2 separate regions of the Homo sapiens genome follow, and region 2 is linked to region 1. The links are contacts of gene promoters, found by promoter capture Hi-C in human tissues and cell types (Jung and others, 2019). All regions are on one chromosome and are shown on one strand. The core of a region is centred on a gene start or on the middle of the fragment in contact, and the rest is flanking DNA. Distances in the headings are between cores, read along the strand shown. Region 1 holds the start of PIK3C2B (phosphatidylinositol-4-phosphate 3-kinase catalytic subunit type 2 beta). Region 2 overlaps ETNK2 (ethanolamine kinase 2).

What was found. Contacts are between HindIII fragments. The study calls those that stand out against the background at their distance.
Region 2: a contact is called between a fragment that was not itself captured here and the fragment with the promoter of PIK3C2B in region 1, in 1 of the 25 tissues and cell types used here (bladder).

What each region holds. Positions count from the first base shown.
Region 1 is chr1:204,490,064-204,497,302 of GRCh38, forward strand. PIK3C2B (phosphatidylinositol-4-phosphate 3-kinase catalytic subunit type 2 beta) reads right to left here and starts at 4,742. Exons shown (of 33, transcript NM_001377334.1): 1 at 4,293-4,742. LOC124904584 (translation initiation factor IF-2) reads left to right here and starts at 1,688. Exons shown (of 2, transcript XM_047439554.1): 1 at 1,688-1,698; 2 at 4,113-5,669. The coding sequence starts at 1,688. The coding sequence ends at 5,133. RefSeq lists silencers at 2,783-2,862, 4,422-4,891 and enhancers at 3,932-4,121, 4,192-4,321. The HindIII fragment of the contact is 7,537 bases long and covers 1,845-7,239 here.
Region 2 is chr1:204,135,579-204,142,817 of GRCh38, forward strand. ETNK2 (ethanolamine kinase 2) reads right to left here. Exons shown (of 8, transcript NM_018208.4): 4 at 5,737-5,879; 5 at 4,457-4,540; 6 at 1,526-1,671. It overlaps ERLNC1 (estrogen receptor responsive lncRNA 1), which reads left to right and starts at 5,830. Exons shown (of 3, transcript NR_123739.1): 1 at 5,830-5,898; 2 at 5,987-6,682; 3 at 7,071-7,239. The HindIII fragment of the contact is 3,100 bases long and covers 1,449-4,548 here.

The DNA of each region.
Region 1 (7,239 bases), core at 3,492-5,991:
CCACCTCTATGGTGGAACAGTGGCAGGAGTGACACAGTCATGATGGAAGGATAACAGTTTCCAAAGAGGCAAACAATCTTTGGCTTCTCTGAAATACTGTGAAGCCTCTGCTAGGTGAGACTTCCTACAGAGAGTTCTCAGGAAGAGGAAGGAGTGAATTGCTAAGGCTTCCTTCAGCCACAGGTCTTATTTCTGCTTCAGGACTACAGTGAACCTCTCTCTTCTTCCTTCTCTATACCCTGAGGGCCTCTGCTCCCCAAAGCACAAATGTCTTCTGATTCTTTAGTCTCCTTAACCAGGGTGATGATTTGGGGTGAGTGAATTCCATCCCAATGTCCCAGTGTTTTGGGGAAGTAAATTTCCCAAAGACAAAGCCACTAATTGGGTCGGCACGAAACTCCAAAGTGTTGCAGGATAGGTCCTTTCACGGGTCATGTTGTGATCTGCGGGGTAGGCGTTCAGTTCCAGCATTGCTACTAACTGCATGACCTTGAGAAAGTCACTTTTTCTCAGGGAAGTGATGGCCCAGGTCCTTTCCAGTTTTGATACTCTATGTGATCTTACAAAATGCAAGAACAAGCTGGGAGAGGTGGCTCATGCCCGTAATCCCAACACTTTGGGAGGCCGAGGTGGGAGGATCACTTGAGACCAGAAGTTCGAGATCAGTCTAGGCAACATAGTGAAATCCTGTCTCAACAGAAAAAGAAAAAAAAAAAAGGCAAGAATAGTCCCTCAAGTTTCATTTTATAAAACAGATGCAAAATAAAGCAGATATGAAAATACCAAAACAAGAAATCTGCCTTAATTTCCCCAGGATCCTCCAAGTCCCAAACCTTCTATTAGTGTTGCTCAGAAGGCAGCAATATGACTTGATCAGATTATCCCACATCTCTTCCTTCCTTGGAAGGTAGACATAGAAATAAAAATGCATAGAAAAGCAGATGAGGCCCAGAAAAATTTATTATGCCTACATGCCCATGAGATGTCCCAGGCTGGTGACGTCTCATGGGCATTCAAGGAATCCATTAAGAATGAATTCTGAGGCTGGACATGGTGACTCACACCTGTAATCCTGGCCCTTTGGGAGGCTGAGGCAGGTGGATCACCTGAGGTCAGGAGTTCGAGACCAGCCTGGCCAACATGGTGAAACCCTGTCTCTACTAAAAATACAAAAAATTAGCCAGGCATGGTGGCACACGCCTATAATCCCAGCTACTCGGGAGGCTGAAGCACAAGAATCCCTTGAACCTGGGAGACGGAGGTTGCAGGGAGCTGAGATGACACCACTGCACTCCAGTCTGGGTGACAGGGTGAGACTCTGTCTCAAAAAAAAAAAATGAATTCTGAGGCTGGACATAGTGGCTCATGCCTATAATCCTAACCCTTTGGGAGGCCAAGGCAGGAGGTTCCTTTGAGGCCAGGAGTTTGAGACCAGCCTGGGCAACATACTGAGACCCCATCTCTACAAAAACTTAAAAAATTAGCCACATGTAGTGGTGCATGCCTATAGTCCAAGCTACTCAGGGTGGGGACTGAGGTCGAAGGATCACTTGAGCCCACTGCACTCCAGCCTAGGCAACAGGGAGAGACCCTGTCTCAAGAACAAACAAAAAGAATGAACTCCACAATTTTGCTGTCCCTTTCTGTTCTCCCAAGACCCAATATCTCTCTGAGTAGCACTGAGGCTATGAACACAGGGTAAGGAGTGAGACTGCTTGCTTCAAATCCCACCTCTATCATTTACTAGCTGGCTGACATCAGTGAGTGTTAGTGATTACATTACTTGCCAGCTCAGCATTATCCTCTCTATAGGCAGTAGCCAGCCTTTGGAAGGTGTTTATCCCTCCTCAATTCCTACAAATATCATGAGGCATCCTTTCCTTCTCTCCCAGTTCCCATCCTGCCAACACTATTTAAAGAAAAATACCCAAGGAATACAGCAGTTACCTTGGTATTGTCACACTACTCTTTCCTTAGCAAGAAAGAAAAGGTCCCAAAACATTCCCTACTCCATGTGGCCCTCAGATCCCACCCTATCCCCATCCCTCACAGATCTCCCTCCCTTATGTGGGAGGCTAAACCCAGTAAGAATAATCATTTGTAAAGTACTCTGTAGTTTTCAGGGTACTTTTGCACACATGATTCTGTTTAGTTCTTGGTAAGCAGCATTTCATTATTAATCCTGTGAGCCATGGCTACTCCCCCACCTCCATTTTACAAATATACAAACTAAATCTTAGGTCCACAAATTGTCTGTGCTCACATAGCTAAAAAGAAAGTCACACCAAGACACTGTTTTCTCTACTACTTCACATTATGATGTCCAAGTTCACATCCTGGGAACATGAGGAGCCTGAACCTTATAGCTAGTTACAAGCCCCTAAAAGGAACAGAGACCTCATTTTTCTACCCACTGGTCCAGGCCAGGGCCATCCCAGCTGAAGCACCACAGACATGATATAGATGCAAAGCACCAGGCACAGGAGGAGTGGGGACACCACCAAGCGGGGACCAAAGGCCCACGAGGGTATAGAGTATCTGCCAGAGCATACTAGGTCATGACAAAGACCAAAGGCATTCCAGACCACCAAGGAAGTCCAAAGGAGCTCCCCCAGAAACAGCCCAAGTCCCCAGATAAACTGACCCTTCCTCACCCAGCACACCCCCTTGGCCCTTTCTCACTCATGCTTCCAGTGGAGAAGGAAATAGACAAGCAGCCGGGTCTGAGAGCTTGATCAGATTCAGCCATACACACTCAGCAGTAAGCTCAGAGCCATGGCAATCAAACCTCAGGCTCACCCAAAGGCCAAAGGAGAAGCAGCCACAGCCTGGGTCTAGGGCTCCAGCTCAGAGCCACCATCTCTTCAGATGCTGGCTGCCAAGCAGAGCTATAAAATGTGCCTCGACTTAATTTTTCCATGGACACAACCTCAAGATGGGCCAGCCAGACTCTGGAGGAGCTGGGATTCCAAAGTCTCACTGCCTGTCTGCTCTGGGATCGGCAGCTGGAGTTGGGGAGAGGGAAGTATTTGGGGGTCGGCATTGCCACCTCCTGGGCCATTTCTCTTCCTAATATCTTCCCAAAGCCTGATGCAGCAACAGAGTAAGTTTTCATTCAGCACTGATTCAGGGTTGGAATTTAGTACAAATTGCTTACATCTGCCTGGCCATATCCCAAATAGGTAGTTTAGAGCAAGGAGGAGGGGCAGCATTGGCCCACTTCTTGGAGCCCGGGTAGCCGCCTGCTAAAGAATCTGGTGCCATGCTGGGACCAGCCAGCCCAGGGTACAAAACTCTCCAACAGAGTTGAGAAAAAACAGCCCAAGAGAGCTGCCAGAGACAATACAGCGATTCCATCCCAGGCATGATTGGAAGGGCTGGGGCAGGGAAGCTACGAAGACCCCAGAAGCGGGTGGAGAGGAGAAAAGGCAGGCCTGAAGGAGCAAGAGCAATGGCAGAAAACACACACACACACACACACACACACACACTTCAACATCAGCCAACTAGGGTGTGTGCACTAACCTCATACATTTGGTAACCTCTTCCCACAATCCAGAAGCCTGCCAAGCCCCTGGGCTCCCCACCCTACTCCACCCCACACCAGCTTGGCAGCCTTGCTTGTGCTTCCTGCTGCGATTGCTCCTCCAACATCAAAGTCACCGCTGTCGGGAGCTGAAAATGAGGGACAAGTATAGGCCAGGAGAGCAGCGCCTTCTCCCAGCACCGGCGAACTCAGGCCTGAGGGTCCCTCTCCCTCTTTCAAGCTTTCAGTCTCCTTTTGCTGCAGTATCCTTATAAGGGAGAATCCAATTCTACCCTCCGCCCGACTAAGAAACGTACACATTCCCCAGGCTAGATGCCGACTTCTCACCCAGTCCACAGAAGGCACTAACCCCATCACAGGACAGGTTTTGCTTTTTTTATTTCTTATCTTAAATAAACAAACCCCAAAGCCATTGACTGGTTCAGATCGCCCTGCAGCTGGGAGCCAGGAAGTGTGTTTAGCGAGAAGGGGGTGGGGACGCGGGTGCCTGGAGCCCCAGAGGCCCTGAAGCTGCTGGAGTGGAGTGGAGTGGGGTGAGGGGCAACCTGCTCTGCCCGGCGGGCAGGAGCTCAGGCTCCCACGGCGTCCGCCGCTCAGCCCGCCGCCAGGAACCCTCGGCTGCTTCCATTGTTGCACCTCCGCTGTTGCCATGTTGGAGGGAGAGCCCCCTGACCTCGGCTGCCTCCACTCTGGGGGCACTTTACAGACGCTGGGGCCGATGCAACCCGCAGGATGCGTGTCCTACCTGCGCTAGCTGCTGGCTCTGCTGCAACATCCGACGTGTCTTGTGCCTGGCGACGTGGGCTGCTCGCTCCGCGCCTCCCGGGCTCGCTCTGCGGCTCCAGGCGCCTCTTGCACCAGCGCGAGAGGAGCTGGCCGGCCGCACGCCGCCTGCTCCCGGGCCGCTCCCCTCTCCAGGCTCCGCACAGACCCTAGGCTCCAAGGGGCAGAGGGAGAGGCAGCAAAGGGCGCAAGGACCAGCTTGTGGGGGTGGGGAGGGGTGCTCTCCGCCGAGAGCGTGCGCGAGCTCGCAGAGTCAGGCCACCCCGGGTGAGACAATAGCGGCAGCAGCGGGCGAGAGAGGGGAAGCCATCTCCCGGACACCCGGCGCACTGCACGGCGACGCGACGCTCGGCCAGACCCTGCCTGGACAGGCAGGCACCCGGCCGCCGGCTCCAGCCGCAGCGCCGAATCCGCCGCGAGCCGGAGGGCGGGGCGGCTGCTGGAACCCGGGCCGCCCTTCGCCTCTCCCCTCCCCTTCCCCCTCCTCTTCTCTTCTCCTCTCCTCCTCTCCCCTCCGACTCCCGCCCCACTTGCCATTGCGTGGGGGAAGAGAAACGCGCTGGCGTCAAGTTGTGCTCTGCAACCCAAGAGCCAGGATTTCCACTCCCCACTTGGGTGAGGGTTTTTGCGGATGGTCGTTAGTTTCCCCTGCTGGAACCCCTTGGCTTTGGGTCAGAGGAAAGCTCAATCATTCTGCTAGAAATGACGGTGCTGAGGTCCAGTTATCCGTTTCAGGAATTTCTACCATAATTACGGTAGCGATGTTCGGGGGATCCCCTACCTTGAGGGTTAGGTTGGGGTAGAGAGAGGCTGTCTCCGGGCTTTACACGCTCAGTGTCATTCGTCTTTCTGTCTCCTTCCTTCCTCCCTTTCTGGAAGGGGAGTCTCGTTTGTTTTTGTATTCGCCCAGGTGGATCTTCCGAGCTGCGATCCAGGAAACAGCAGTCAACCTAAGTAGGGAGGGGAGATAGAGGATCCTCCAACCCAACTAGGGTAGTGAGAAAAAAAAGTAAAAAAAAAAAACCTTTCATACAATATGTTATATTTAAATTTTCTACTCTAAATACCTTTCTTCCAGCAGTGGTCTCTGGAAGAATTTTCCTAAAGGCTCCACCCAAAAGAAACCATGAGTTGGCCAGCTCCTCGTTTGCATTTGGTTTGCATAGTACCAACGATCACTAATCTCAAAGTATATTTTCCTAAAAACGTGAATCGTGTTTTCCTCCACTGCCCTCATTTCTTCTTTCTTTCTCGACAGACTATGAAGATTAACACCTGGTCCTCAGCCTCTCAAGTAAAACCATGATTAAATAAATTTGTTATGCTTTTCTCTGGTTAACTTGTCTTTTGTTATAGAAGTGTCGGCTGTGACTCTTATGATGGGGAGGAAAGGGATCACTCCCCTTTCTGATCCTACAGTGCCTTCTGTACCCAATGCTTGTGACTTTCAGTATTCCACTTCACCCTCTGAATATCAAGAATAGCGTCCTCACCTATCACGCTTTCGTAATGATCAAAGGAGAGAATGTAGGTGAAACATCTTGATAATTAACTGAAGGCAGCTTGGTCTGCACATATGTCATAATGTATATGATGCTACTCCTGATCTCAGGAGCCACAGGGGTTAAAAAACGTGTCCGTGCACTTCTTCACCATACAAATATTTATGACAGCTTACTCTGTGTCTGTCATCAGGTCAAGCTCAGGAGCCTGAGAGAACAGAGTGTTACAGGGGCCACTGGTGGTTCTTTTTTTTTTTTTTTTTTTTGAGACGGAGTCTTGCTCTGTCGCCCAGGCTGGAGTGCAGTGGCGTGATCTCGGCTCGCTGCAAGCTCTGCCTCCCGGGTTCACGCCATTCTTCTGGCCCAGCCTCCGGAGTAGCTGGGACTACAGGCGCCCGCCACTATGCCCAGCTAATTTTTTCTTTTTTTTTTTTTTTTTTTTTGTATTTTTAGTAGAGACAGGGTTTCACCGTGTTAGCCAGGATGGTCTCGATCTCCTGACCTTGTGTTCCACCCACCTCGGCCTCCCAAAGTGCTGGGATTACAGGCGTGAGCCACCGCGCCCGGCGACCACTGGTGGTTCTATGCTGCTGGGGTGAAAAGTCTGAAGGAAAGAACTAACAGGAAGTAGGCATAGGTAGCTGAGTGGAGGATCAGATCACAGGCTTTATCATGCATTTTGGTAAGGAAAAAATTGAATAAAGAGAAACCAGGGCATGCCAAAAAGTTTAGGTGCTGTAGGTGACAGAGAACCTGCTGTGCACAAATGGAACTGGGAAGTAGTGTGACCAGAAAAAGACTTCCTGGCATATTATAGAGAAGGATTTGGAAGATGCACTGCATGTCTTCCGTTTGCCCCTCCAGATCTTCCTGGCCCTCTGGCTTCCTAGACTGGGTTGGCCAATGGGGGCCATGGCTGAAGATTGAATAAGGAGGGAGGTCAGGGGAAACTGGATATTTATTCTTCAGGATTCCTCTCTTTGGGGTCACAGTGCGCTGGCTGCCACCCTCAACCAAAGATCACAGCTTCCACGGGTGGTTCTCTCTCCCCTCCCTCTCTCTTTTGTTTTTCTTTTTTTCTTTTTCTTGAGACCGAGTCTCACTCTATTGCCCAGGCTGGAGTGCAGTGGCTTACTGCAACCTCTGCCTCCCGGGTGCAAGCGATTCTCCTGCCTCAGCCTCCTGAGTAGCTGGGACTACAGGCGCATGCCACCATGCCCGGCCAAATTTTTTTTGTATTTTTAGTAGAGACAGGGTTTCACTTTGTTAGCCAGGATGGTCTCAATCTCCTGACCTCATGATCCACCCTCCTCAGCCTCCCAAAGTGCTGGGATTACAGGCGTGAGCCACAGTGCCAGCCCCCTCCCTCTCTCTTGATTCAGGTAATCACTCCCCTCCTTTGACTTT
Region 2 (7,239 bases), core at 1,749-4,248, 360 kb before region 1:
CAGGGGTTGGCTACAAAGTACCTCCCTCCACTTTATTTCCTTTCCATTCCTTAAAAGGGGCATAGATAAGCTAGCACATGTGAATGATCACTAAAAAACTTAGCAAGAGGAAGGCTTGTGCTTAAGGTCTTAAAGTCTTAAGACTGAGGAGGAAGAACCTAATGTAGACTCTGTTTTGTGCCAGTGAGGAAAACAGAATAGGGAATCCGAAATTACAGAAAAGTAAAGATTGTATTTAGCTCTCTTCTGTACTGTGAAATTCAAGGCAGCTGACTTGTCTTCTTACTTCTGCAAGCCAACATTAGCAATCCCTGGGCACACACCGGTGGAGACCTGGCATGAACCAGGTATCTTGGATAAGGGGCACTGAAAATTGAGAACTGACAGCACAGTCATTTGAGCAGGAAGAGCCTGTTGGGAAAAGCTTACTTAGAGTTCTGAGTCAGTGGAGGTAGTTACACAGAAGTATGAGCTTGATATTCTGTATCTTCTCTAAAGGTTAAAAAAATATATATGTATATACACACACACATATAGCCAGGCATGGTAGCTCACGCCTATAACCTTAGCTACTCAGGAGGCTGAGGTGGGAGGATCATTTGAGGCCAGGAGTTAGAGACCAGCCTGGGCAACATAGCAATAGCTGATCTCCACAAAAAGTTTAAAGAAATTAGCCGGGCATGGTGGCACACCTGTAATCCTAGCTACTCAGGAGGCTGAGGTGGGAGGATTGCTTGAGCCTGGGAGTTTCAGGCTGCAGTGAGCTATGATTGTGTCACTGTGCTCCAGCCTAGATGACAGAGCGGGACCCTGTCTCAAAAAAAGTATATATATATATATATATATATATGCCGGGCGCAGTAGTTCACTCCTATAATCCCAACACTTTGGGAGGCAGAGGCGGGCGAATCACCTGAGGTCAGGAGTTCAAGATGAGCCTGGCCAACATTGTGAAACCACGTCTCTACTAAAAATACAAAAAAACTAGTTGGGTGTGGTGGTACATGTCTGTAATCCCAGCTACTTGGGAGGCTGAGGGCAGGAAAATGGCTTGAACCTGAGAGGCGGAGGTTGCAGTGAGCCGAGATAGCGCCATTGCACTCTAGCCTGGGCAACAAGAGTGAGACTCTGCCTCAAAAAAAAAAAAAAAAAAGTATATATACATATATATGGATGAATTTAACTGCAGCATGAAGGGCTGAGGTTAGGCAGTAGAAAGAACTACTTATTCAAACAAGGGAATTGCTAACACAGGAAGCTAGGATATTTCTTGGAAGTATTTCTCTAGAAAGGAGAGAGCCTAGACTTGGTGGGGCTTGGGGAGCAGGGAACAGGGCATCAAGTATTAAGAGCTGCCTAAGATGGCTCTTCCCAGGCTTCACCTCTAGGGTGGGGTCAGGAGCCAGGGATGGGTGTCCCCAGGCTCTCACCTGACCCTGGGCTCTGGGTAGGAGGCTAGGTGGGTCACCAGTCCCTCCTGCTAACTCCTCCTTTCCTGCCCCAGCCCTAGAAATAAGGCACTCACCAGGGCAAACTTGTTGACTTGCACGTAGAGCCTTTGCACCTCCCTGGGGGTCACGGCCATCCCCTTTTGTGCCTGCAGGTAGTAGTGCAGCCACTGCAGCTGGGTCTCCCGCGCCGGGTACAGGCAGTAATCCACCTCATTCACGCCTGAGGGGGAGGCAGGCCAGACAAAGTTGCTCAGAGATGGGCCCACCAAGGGTCTCCTCAAGCTCAGTAGGTGTTCCCATCTCCCCTCAAACTCCCATCTCCTTTGATCTTTGGGGCTGTGCCCAAGGAGGCGGCCCGAGAAGGCAGCTTCTTTGATTACTAAACTCAGCTAGTGTGGGGTCTACCCCATCCCAGCTAGGAGCACTGTTTCTGTGGGATTGAGGAAAGCAGAGAGAGAGGTAGACTGGTTAAGGGGCAAGACACTGTCCTGGGAGTGACAGGAACCCCTCAAGACAGCACCACTGTCTTTCCCAACCCCTGCACAAAAATGATGGTGCACAGGAGGCCCTCAGTTAAAAGCACTGGATAAGCATTACTAGCCCTAGGTCTTATGCTAACCTTGTTAGCCTTAAGGGAACTCTTTTCTATCACTGGCCGAAATTTCTTCATTTATCAAATGAGGGAGCTGGACTTCATGTAGGGATATCAAACATGGCTTCCTGGTGTTAAGCTGGCTACTTAAAAACATCACCTGGAGAGCACCCCCACCCCAGTCCAGTTCCCCAGATGGCTCTGATGTGTAGCCAGGCTGGGAACCCATGGATCAGATGGCTCTGGTTTCTTCCAGCCCCACCATAGCCCTCCAGCTGCCAGCCCAGTACCACCAGCCTCATCCTGGGCATGGTAGAATAAACCACAGCTTCAGAGCTGGTACAGAAAGAAGTGGTTTAAGACAGGAGGACCAGGACTGGGCCACCTTCTCTAGGGTTCCCTCCTTCCTCTTCTTCTTGTCCTTCTCAAGCTTCCTTTATATCCCTGGAGAAACATACACAGTCTCCTGAGGCTCCAGGAGCGTGGCTAGAAAAGAATCTCCTGGAACAGATGTACAAACGGAGGCCCAGAGAGGAGAAGAAATGCACCCAAGGTCATATGGTGGTTAGAGGCAGAGTCAGGGCTGGAACTCTCATCTCCCAATGCCCAGAACTGTGTCTTCCTCACTCCTGCGCACCCATGAGGCCCCTCTCCCTAGGTCTGGATCTCCCTAGCTCTCTTCCTTCCCCCAGGCTAGGTTCTTCCTCCTCCATTCTCAACTTGAGAGCAGGCTGCAATCTACCCCTTTGGAGAAATTCCAGTTGGATTTTGCTCTGTGCTGTGGGCAAGGAGGACTTAAAATGCTTAAGAATTATCCCTTGTGGAAAGGCCAGGGGGCCTTGCAGCCAAGCATTCCCGGACCCAGGGCCCTGCCAGTGCCAGCCTCTGCTCCATGCCACACCCCGAGGCTCAGCTGCTCTGCCCAGCAGAGGCTCCATCACCCTGGGGGTTCCTAGGTGTACTCTCAGGTACAATCATTGCTCGACAGATTGATCACCTGGGGTTCCAGAAGGAACACAATTGGCCTGATGGGGCTGGAGAATGGCTGTCCAGTTGGCCTGGGCATGCCTCTCTATCCTGAGCCACAGGGCCTGGCCCCATCATGTGAACACTTTACTGTGCTAGTCTGGGGACAGCTCTCCAGCCCCAGTGTCCAGCTCCGTCCATGTGAGTTGCCTCCTCGGTTCCATCTAATTAAGCCCTCAAGCTGGAAAAACCTGCCTTGCCTCCTCTACACAAATGGTTCCATTGTGCATACTATGCCTTTATAGAACACCTGCCTACCCCTAGGAATCACCCCCCTATCCTGCCTCTTCCATCCCCACTCCCGGAAAGCTTCGCAGTCTAATCACAGCAGCAAACACCAATACAATGCTTAGTATGTGTCATACATATGTGTGTGTGTGTGTCTCATATCAACACTATGAGGTAGGTACTATCATCATCTCCATTTTATAGGGGCACAGAGAAGGTAAATAAACTGCCCAAGGGTCACACAGCCAGTAAGCAGCAAAGCCAGAAACTGAACTTAGGGAGTCAAATTACATAGCACATATTTAGATCCTACTTAGATGACTCTCATCAGGCCACCAGGCAAACAGCTACTTGTAGCTTGTTCTGCTCCTTATCTACATGTAAGGCCCTCATGTACAATTGCGCCAGTTGTACTGGGTATAAAGGAGCTTGGACAAAGGAGTGGAGGCTGAAGTCATCCTGTGCTGTGCTAGCCAAGCTGCAGCAATCGTCTAAGCTGGGTCTGCCTGGAGGAAGGGGTCTTTTTCTAATTCATGTACCAAGCTGAGTTACCAAAGTGCCATATGGGCTAGGAGAGGTCTGCTCTGTGTATGTGAGTCCTGTTTCCTCCAATGAGACTTGGAACTCTCTAAAAGCAGGCTGTGCCTTAACCCCTTAAGCTGTGATATTTTGGAGGACAAGAGCTATCTAGCCTCTACCCTCTAAGTATAGAACCACCTCTGGCCTTCCCCATACCCTGGCCCTGGTCCCCATCCTAAAGAGGGTGCTTTGAACGTTGGTCAAATATAGTCCTGTATTGCCTAATGACAGGGATACCTTCTGAGAAATGCACCATCGGGTGATTTTGTGTGATCATCAGTGTACTTACACAAACCTAGATGGGATAGCCTACTACACACCTAGGCTGCATGGTATAGCCTGTTGCTCCTGAGCTACAAACCTGTACAGCATGTTACTATACTGAATACTGTGGGTAACTGTAACACAATGCTAAGTATTTACGTATCTAAACATGTCTAAACATAGAAAAGGTACAGTAAAAATATGGTACCTATTACCGTAAATATACAGTAATCTCATAGGACCACCATCTACATGCGGTCAGTCATTGACTGAAACACCGCTACAAAGCACATGACTGTAGAAATGCCCCTCTCACCTGCAAACTCATTGAAATGGTTGCCAATGTCAAAAGCTTGGTAGTTGTAGCCAGCATATTCATAGTCAATGAACCGCACGTGACCTATGAAGTAGAGGAGAATCGATGAGAGTTGGCCCAGGAGATCTGGCAACAGAGCCTGGTCAAGCTTCCACAGACCTCTGGGATGCACCCACTGAGTGATGCCGGCCTCTGCAGCAACCCTGCCCAATCCCATCACTGCAGCAGTCTTCCAAGCTACTTCCATTCATCCATCCATCCATCCATCCATCCATCCATCCATCCATCCATCTGCCCTTCCCAGCTCCCAGTGTCCCTCTCACACAGCTGGATCTTCAGGCTCTCCTCATCTAAAGACAGCTGTCCTCAGCATGGCTAAGGATCAGGAATAAAGCTAAGTATTAATACGCCCTGGGGTGATGCCCTCATCAGCAACACCAGGATGTGTTCGTTCTCTCTCTTTCTTGGCACAGATTTTTGTTTGTTTGTTTTTGTCTTTTTTTTTTTTGAGACAGAGTCTCGCTCTGTCGCCCAGGCTGGAGTACAGTGGCATGATCTCGGCTCACTGCAACCTCTGCCTCCCTGGTTCAAGCGATTCTCCTGCCTCAGCCTCCTGAGTAGCTAGGATTACAGGCGCACACCACCATGCCCAGCTAATTTTTGTATTTTTAGTAGAGATGGGGTTTCGCCATGTTGGCCAGGCTGGTCTTGAACTCCTGACCTCATGATCCACCCGCCTTAGCCTCCCAAAGTGCTGGGATTACAGGCATGAGCCACCGCGCCTGGCCAGACTTTTTTTTTTTTTTTAAATAGGGTCTTGCTCTGTTGCCCAGGCTGGAGTGTAGTGGCTCCATCATGGCTCACTGCAGCCTCCACCTCCCAGGCTCAAGTGATTCTCCTGCCTCAGCCTCCCGAGGAGCTAGGACTATAGCATGTACCACCATACCAGGAAAAGTTTTGTGTATTTTTTTTGTAGAGACAGGGTCTCACCACATTGCCTGGGCTGGTCTTGAATTCCTGGGCTTAAGCAATCCACATGCCTTGGCCTCCCAAACTGCTGGGATTATAGGCATGAGCCACTGAGACTGGCCCTTGGCACAGACTTTTCAAAGTGGGAATTTTTTATTTCCTTTCCCCCTTCCCTCCTACAAATTAACTTAAGACCTAAATCAAGGTCTAACTTTTGCTTGTCCAAGTGCCAGCCGGAAGAACAGCTCCGTGAAGCCAGCTAACCAACCAACCAAAACCCTGCTGCTGCCCCAGGGCCAGAGAAGCCATACCTTTGATGCTGTCATAGATGATATTCTTGCAGAGCAGGTCATTGTGACAAAACACCACAGGGGACTCCAGCTGGGACAGATGCTCCTTCAGCCAGGCCAGCTCCCGTTCCAACACCTCTACCTTAGGGACATCTGCAGAAAGGCTGGGCAGTGGCAAAAAAGGTAGCCAGTGAAAGGAGGGCTGATAGACAGGTGCTTGGCCTCAAGAGCCCTGAATCTGAGCCTCATCACTCCCTCTGTCTTACTGCAGGGGGCCTTGGAAAAATGGCCAATCTCTTAGACCCTCACTTTTATCATCTGTAAAATGGCACTGAGGCGTCCTGTCCTTCTGACTCCTCTGGTTATGCTAGGAAGCTGATAAAGACATGGGCGTCAAAGCATGAGGCAGAGCATAAAAGTCACTGACTGAGGGCATCCCTGCTACTTTGTGAAAGGAACAGGAGGGTAAGGAAGGAGACACAGGGAAAGGACAAGGCAGGTGAGAACGAGTGTCCAGACCTGGGGATTCCAGACTAAGAACAAGGGCAACAGGAGCAGTGGGGAGAGATGCAAAACAGACCTGATCTTAGGATGCTGGGAAAACTCCCCAGGAGGCGGTGCAGCTCCCTAAGTCGAGCTGACTCCCACAAAGATCCTCCCCAGGAGGAAGAGTAGTGCCCTGGCAGGGAGCTGGAGCAATGGAGCTCTCTTGAGGAGGCAGAGGTATGTCCTGGTATGCACCCCCCTCTCACCCCAGCAGCTGACCATGTCACAGGTAGAAGGGATCAGAGAGACGGTCTGGTCTAACCTCTCATCTCACAAACAGACCATCGGCTCACATGAGAAAGCAAACTAAGAGCTTCTTTAGCTCACTCCTACACTGTCAAAGGAACATTAAAGCCTTCAATGAAGAGCATGCTTGCTTTGTGGCTCCCCATTGACTCATCCCTTCTACCTTGAGTTATGAGTAAGTGTTCCCTTGTCCCAGACCCCTGCCATATCATGCAAGTGCAACCTGGGGGCATGAACAAAGATGCATGGGTCAACCTCTCCTGCTGCCCCACCCCCATCCCAAGCACTCAGCAGCCATTTCTGCTGAAAGAAACACATGTTGAGGAATGAAGAAATCAGCCAATCAATCAAGTTATCAGAGGCCATGTGGAAGTCTGATGAGGGTCCACTGTGCTTGTGTGCTCTGAACTTTGGTCCCCAGGAGGCACACAGGTCTGTGTACACTGAAAAGGCCAAACACTTATCACAGTCCTTAAAAAACCTAGAACCACCAATGGGCAGAGGGGAGGAGGCTGGGCTTTTATCTCCATTCCTGTGTCACCTGTTTGTGTTTCTCTGTCCAGGGTAGCAAGAGCACATAGAGAAGGATGAGGATGAGACCGGCCCTCTCTCACCTTCCCACAGGACAGACCGATCACTCCCTCACCCAGCCCAGGGGCCAGAACACGAGAAAGAGTATTCAGTGACTGAGGCACTCCTCTGCCCCCTCTGGAGAAGGAAGAGAGGACAGGG